Linked DNA regions of Homo sapiens: region 1 is linked to region 2. The links are contacts of gene promoters, found by promoter capture Hi-C in blood cells and fetal thymus (Javierre and others, 2016). All regions are on one chromosome and are shown on one strand. Each heading gives the region's core, a stretch centred on a gene start or on the middle of the fragment in contact. The rest is flanking DNA. Distances are from core to core; before and after follow the strand shown. Region 1 holds the start of LOC124903874 (a long non-coding RNA gene). Region 2 holds the start of C1QB (complement C1q B chain).

Region 1 (3,405 bases), core at 248-2,747, 240 kb before region 2:
TTTATAAAGGAAAGAAGTGAAATTGACCCACAGTTCCTCATGCCTGGGGAGGCCTCAGGAAACTTACAACCATGGCAGAAGAAGAAGCAAACACATACTTCTTCACATGGTGGCAGGAGAGAGAAGTGCCGAGCAAAGGGGGAAAAGCCCCTTATAAAACCATCAGATCTTGTGCAAACTCACTCACTATCATGAGAAAAGCATGGGGGTAACCACCCCCGTGATTCAATTACCTCCTACTAGGTCCCTCTCACAACAGGTGGGGATTATGGGAACTTCAATTCAAGATGAGATTTGGGCGGGGACACAGCCAAACCATATCAGGGGCTACCAGGTGAAGTCAGGAAAGCTCCCTCGTGAGTGGGGGTCACTGGAATGGGATCTCAAAGAACAAACAGGAACCACCCAGACAAAGATGTGCATGCCTGGCAGAAGGGGCAGCAGGTTCAGAGGAAAGGAGAGGAGAAAAAGCTTGGGATGTAGGGGATATGAAGGGGGCTGACTTGAAGATGTGTCTCTACCACCCCCATAACAGGGGGAGGCAGGGATAGCTGGGTGGGGCAGCAGCAGAGAGGAAGTCTCTTTTGCCAAGCCAGATCATCTGCCTCCTCCTCCAGGAAGCCTCCTTGACATCCCAGCCAGATGCACCTCTTCCTTCTCAGTCCCAGAGCACTTGCTGTGGGTGCCACAGGAGGGGGTTTCTGCTATGCCCCCTCAACTTCCAGCTGAGGCTCCTCTCGCCCCCTTAACTCTAAGCCCATGAGGGAGGGCTTGTGTTTGTTCCCCTGTACCAAGTTTGGGGTCCCTCACACAAAGTCCTTCTCCAGTGCCCACAGGGTGAAGGCCGACTCCTTAGCCTGGCATTCCAGACCCTTCATGACCCACCATTTTGCAGTCTCTCCTGCAACATCCCTAATGTTTCCTAGGTTCCTGCCATCCCTAACTCTTTCCCCCTTCCTTGGTAGAGCTGCCAGATTTAGCAAACACAAATATAGGATGCTGCTCAGTCAAATTTAAATTTCAGATGAACAACAAATACATTTTGGTATAAGTACGCCCCGTGCAATATTTGGGACATATTTGTACTAAAACATTTATTTTTAAAAAATTCAAATGTAATCATGTGTCTTCTATTTTATCTAGCAACTCTACCTTCCATGGACACTCTTGAGTTTTTGCAAGCACTGTTGCCCCTGTCTGAAATACCCTTTCCTCACTTGTCTTGCAGTGTCCTACTCATCGTTCAAGACTCAGCGCAAGTGCCACCTCTGCTGGGGAGACTTCCCAGATGTCCCAGCCAGGGGTTGTGGGTCCAAATTGTCTCCCCTCCCACCTATTGTCCTAATATACCTGTCCATCTTCTTTAAGGATGTGGATTTCCTGAGGCCAGGGACCATGTCTTGCTCATCTCTGGATCCCCCCAGGTTTGCCACACAGTAAGTGTTCACTAATTATTGACATAATGAATGAACATTAAACTGGTATTCAAAAATCTACAAAACCTGGGATGCAGTACCAGACATGGACACTAAGTGCCACTGTACAACATGGGCTCTGCTCAGACTTGAAAACAGGTTAGATTCTGTAAACTGGGTGGGTGCCCACTTAGAGATGTTGGAGGTTTTAAGCCCCTGATTATGTGAGGGAGATGAGAGGCGGCTGCTGGTTCCATAGGTGCCTCATGAGAGTGAGGAACCAACCTGAGCAGCTCCCTTCATTAAAGCTGGGCAAGGGATTGGAAGCTGTTTCATTTTTCATTTTTGTCTCTCTCTGTCTGACTATATTTTTGAGACAGGGTGTTGCTCTGTGACCCAGGCTGGAGTGCAGTGGCGCGATTATGGCCCATTGCAGCCTCGACCTCCCAGACACAAGCGATCCTCCCACCTCAGCCTCCCTAGTAGCTAGGACTACAGGCACATACCATCACACCCGGCTAATTTTTGTATTTTTGGTAGAGACAGGGTTTCATCATGTTACCCAGGCTGGTCTGGAGCTCCTGGACTCAAATGATCCACCCGTCTCAGCTTCCCAAAGTGCTGGGATTACAGACATGAGTCACTGTACCCAGCTGGAAGCTGCTTCATATCCTTGTTTTTTCACTTGATTGCACTGTGACCTTGGGAAAGACCCTTCACTTCCCTGAGCCCCTGTTTTCTATTCCAAATAAATGGAACAATAAATGCCAAGCTCTCAGGGCTGTTGTGAAGATAAAATTTGATCAGGTAGTGCCTGGCACATTGGAGATGCCCGAGAGACGCCAATTCCCTTCGGTCTCTCCTCTCCCTGGGGTACCTTTATCTGAACAGTGATTAAGCACCAAGGGACGATGGGAAGAGATTCAGTATGAAATCCACTAGTCCTTAGTCTGAGCACTTACCTGGTAGCTTAGGGCCAGTGAGGCATTGGGTGCATGTCTTAAGCCTTCCAGGCCTCAGTTTTCTCATCTCTAAAGTGGGTTAATGCAAGTAGGTACCATAAAAGGTGGTTTTGGAGATTTAAAAGGAAAATACAGGTAAAGCTTTTTAGCACAGTCTCTAGCACATAAAAAGACTTAATAAATGTTGGCTCCCACCATCACTGTTATCATCAAAACCATTATAGAGGCCAGGCGCAGTGGCTCATGCCTGTAATCCCAGCACTTTGTGAGGCCGAGGGCTGGATCACCTGAGGTCAGGAGTTCGAGAACAGCCTGACCAACATGGTGAAACCCCATCTCTACTAAAAATACAAAAAATTAGCCGAGCGTGGTGGCACATGCCTGTAATCCCAGCTACTTGGGAGACTGAGGCTGGAGAATCACTTGAACCCGGGAGACGGAGGTTGCAGTGAGCTTGCGTCATGACACTCCAGCCTGGGCAACAAGAGCAAAACTCTGTTGTCACACACACAAAAAAAACCCCCAAAAAACAAACAAACAAAAAAACCATTATAGAGTAAGCCCTTTCCCATGTTCATTAAATGGATGGATGAATGCAAAAGTGAATGAATGAGTGGACAAACCTCTCCAGGTAGATCCTACTCCAGGTACTGGGCAACAAGCTGAATATGGCCTGAACTTTCATAGTTTCACCCCCCATCCTCCAACCTTTGCTCCTTCTGCCTGGAATGTCCTTCCTCTTCATTTTCTGTTAAATAAATTCTAAAATTGATGTGGGCTACCAGGGGCCATCGACCACAGGTGGCCTCATGAATGGCTCTTCTCCTTGAGTTCTTGGGGGACCAGTGGGATCCTGAACCTGTGTGCTTTGGGGTAGCTGCCAAAGGAGGCCACCTCCCCTGGGGCGTTGGAACTGACGGAAGCAGCCAGGCCTGGGTCTGCACAAGGCCACCGCCATTCATCAGTGGCCTCCAGAAGCCATCTAGCAACGCAGTTGTCAGCTCTGGACTCCAGGCAGGCTGGGAAAT
Region 2 (3,229 bases), core at 430-2,929:
TGAAGCCAGACAGCCTGATAAAAGGACTAATGCATGGGACACACCAAGGGTAGTGGTAGGCACATGGTCAGTGTTCGGTGAAAGTGGCTTTTTACCACCACGATGATTGCTGCTCTTGTTAGGCAGCACACATTCACCTGGTGGCGGGAGCCTGTAGTGTCACAAGGAAAGCAACACTCAGCGTTCACATAAGGTCTCTACTGCTTCTTAGCTAAGGGACTTGGGAAATCACTCCTTCTCTCTGGCCACAGTTTACCCTCCTATAAAGTGGGGATAATGCTACTCTCTCCCTCATAGGGTATGTGCGAGGACATGAGTTACAGCTTCCAACAGAGCCTGGCATGTTGGAAATTCTTAATGAATATTAGCTATTTTATTATTATCACTGTCATCCAAGAATTCCTGAGTGGTTGAACAGAAGGGAAGATGGTTGGAGAAGTAAAAAAAGACAATCCCTTTGAAAGACTGTGTTTAGAGGGAGGGGCTCTGTCAGTTGGAGGCAGCAAGGGGTGGAGAGCTGTGACCAGTTGGTGGGGAGAGAGGGTGGGGAGCAGGGTACTGACAGGACTTGGGCTTCCTGGGGAAGCCAGGGGCAGGGGGAGTGGGAAAGTGCTGGTTCTAGCCCATTTCAAAAGCCACCGAGTTTCAGCCTTGGGTTAGGGCTTACAACTCATCTGGTTTAACTGCCTCCTGCCTGTGCCAGCCCATCATCATTGCCAGCGCGGTTTCTCCTGTCCTCCCCCCAGGCTCTGACCTTTCCATCTCCTTCGGTCCAGCAGTCCCTTTCCGCAACATGGAGTCAGGCCCACTTGACTTTAAAGCCCCATCTGCTACCGGCTGCATAACCTCAGGCAAGTGCCTTAACCTCTCTGAGCCTCTTGGCAATGCTGATTTCAACCTGACAGGGCTGCCAGAAGGATGACAGGAGAAGGCGCTTAGAAGAAATAAGGTCCCCCCTGCCCCGTGCAGTGCCACATCCCACTCCCCAGCTGCACAAACATTGCGCTCACTCAGTACTAGCTGAGAACTCATCGTAACTCTACCTGCACATCCCCTTATTTCTTTGGAAGAGTCAAGCTGAGCTTTCTCAGCGAGTATGAGGAAATAAGCAAGGTGTTGGGGAAATGCTGGGCCGGGCAGGAGCGACTGGCTTATAATCCCACTCCTGCCTCTGGTTTACTGATAAATTTTGAGCCAGGGCATGCACTAAGCTTTTGCAAGCTTGATCTCCTGTAAGGCACAGCAGTGCTGAAAGATTCTGTTCTCTGTAGGGGGGCCGGGCTGAGAGAGGTTAGGTGACTTGCCCAAGATAACCAATACATAAGGTGCAGAGCCAGACTCAGCTCAAGTCTCTGCGATGCCAAAGCTCCTATGTGCCAGGCTCCCGCTTTAGGTGGCCTGCCCATCCGCTAGGCCCTGGGTAGCAGCAGACTCCCCAACTCACCCCAGAGATCTGGGTCCCATAGGTCTGGGATTGGGCCCAGCTACCTGCACTGTTAAACAGCCTAACTGGCTCCGAGGCAGGTGACGCAAAGCTCACACTTACGGAATCACCACTTTCTGCCATATTGGCCCTGCCAGCCTCCCCCAGGCGCCAAGCCCCGTCCTCACCTGGGAAGCTGGTGTCCTGTGAGGCCACTGGGCTGAGCAGCAGTGGGACCAGGAGCCGAGAGCCTACTGCCCTCGGTCCGAAGCGGAAGTTCCCTTCCCCAGAGGCGGGAAGGGCTTTCCCCTGACGGTCCCCTCCCATGGACCAGCAGGCTGGCCCCTTTCCCGTCCCCTCACTGTCCCCCCACCCTGCTGCCCTCAGGCAGTTTCAGGTCCTATTTCTGCAACCCACTGGATTTACTGTAAATGAGACGGGTGGGTGGCAAGTTTGGTTCTGCCAACTCAGCAGCTGTGGGGAGAACACGCTGTCCTGGGGGAACATCCACAGCTCACCCTCCCAGGCTCTCTGACCTCGTGATCTTCTTCTACACTGGGCAGGGGTGTTCCTCAGTGAGCATCATGTGGCGGGCCCGCTGCCTGAGTGCTGGCTTACAGTCAGAGCCTTTGATTCCAATCCCGCCTCTGCCACTTGCCAGTTGATGTGTTGTCAGTCAAGGGAGCCCCAATTTTCTCTGCTATAGGATGGGACCATAATTGTACCTGCTCTACAGATACAGATCTCACAGGCCACTGGGAGGATAATGGAGGAAATGATGGGGGAGGAAGTGTCTGGGGGTAAACTGTAAAGGGCTGTGCACGTGTTCATTGTTAATATCACTTCATGTCCCAGGCTTCCCCTTTCTGGGCTCATCTCTTCTGCTTCCTTCCCATTCTGTGCCCCTGCTCTTTCCCTGTTCTCAGAAAATAATCTCATAATGAATTTTAAATGTGTTCATTATTTATTGATACCCCTCCCTCTGCTTCCAGCAGGGCTGGACGCTGATGACAATAATAGGCCCAGGCAGGGGCCTGTTGCTTCTTCTCGATCCTGGAATCACGCCAAGTTAGGGCCGGAGAGGGGCTGAGGTTACTCGGCCCATCCTCCTCATTTTATATACGAGGAAACTGAGGCCCAGAGGGGAGACCCACCATTTAACAAATATTTAGTGTTTGCTTCCATGTGCACTGAAGAGAGAGCTCTTAGCAAATCAGCCATGGTCCCTGCCCCCATGGGGCCTCCCTTCTACGGGGGGAGACTGGTGTTAAACACGGAATGACATGAGGCTTCATTGCTTCTGTGATAAATGTCACAGAAAGACGTGACTGCTGGGGCCGATGCCTCATGGAGGTGGCAGATGCAGACCTGGAAGCCGGCATCCCTGGCACTAGGATATCAGTCTCTCCCTGTGGCTGCGTCTCAGACGACATGATGACTAGCAAGCACCAGGAGCTGGAGGCCCTCTTGACATCTGTGCTTGGAGATGGAAATTCACTGGGCTTGTGGATGCAGCTTGGTGGAAATTAAGTGTTAACTGCAATGGGTGAACAGGAGGGAAAGATAAGTTTGATAAAACCAAAAGGTCTCTGAGCTCAGTCAACTATAGTCCCGAAGGGACCCAGGCTAGGGTGAAGAGAAGAAACACTGGATTCCACAAAGGGAGAAACGAGTTAGTAGGTTGCAAGTTGAGGGCTTCTGAGCATTCCCAAAGCCGAGTGGCTCTGGGCCTCTAGTTCTTTTTTTTTTTTTTTTTCTTGAGATGGAGTCTCAGTCTGTTGCTCAGGCTGGAGTGCAGTGGTGCGA

The links. Contacts are between HindIII fragments. The CHiCAGO score rates a contact against its expected background, and 5 or more counts as called.
Region 1: a fragment that was not itself captured here is called in contact with the fragment with the promoter of C1QB in region 2 in 2 of 17 cell types (M0 macrophages and M2 macrophages); the score reaches 6.2 in M0 macrophages.

Annotation. Positions count from the first base shown.
Region 1 is chr1:22,887,538-22,890,942 of GRCh38, reverse strand. The region is part of intron 6 of EPHB2 (EPH receptor B2); the gene reads right to left. It overlaps LOC124903874 (a long non-coding RNA gene), which reads left to right and starts at 1,383. Exons shown (of 3, transcript XR_007065534.1): 1 at 1,383-1,436. RefSeq lists a silencer at 1,226-1,431. The HindIII fragment of the contact is 2,047 bases long and covers 474-2,520 here.
Region 2 is chr1:22,651,686-22,654,914 of GRCh38, reverse strand. C1QB (complement C1q B chain) reads right to left here and starts at 1,679. Exons shown (of 3, transcript NM_001378156.1): 1 at 1,612-1,679. The HindIII fragment of the contact is 5,474 bases long and covers 1,224-3,229 here.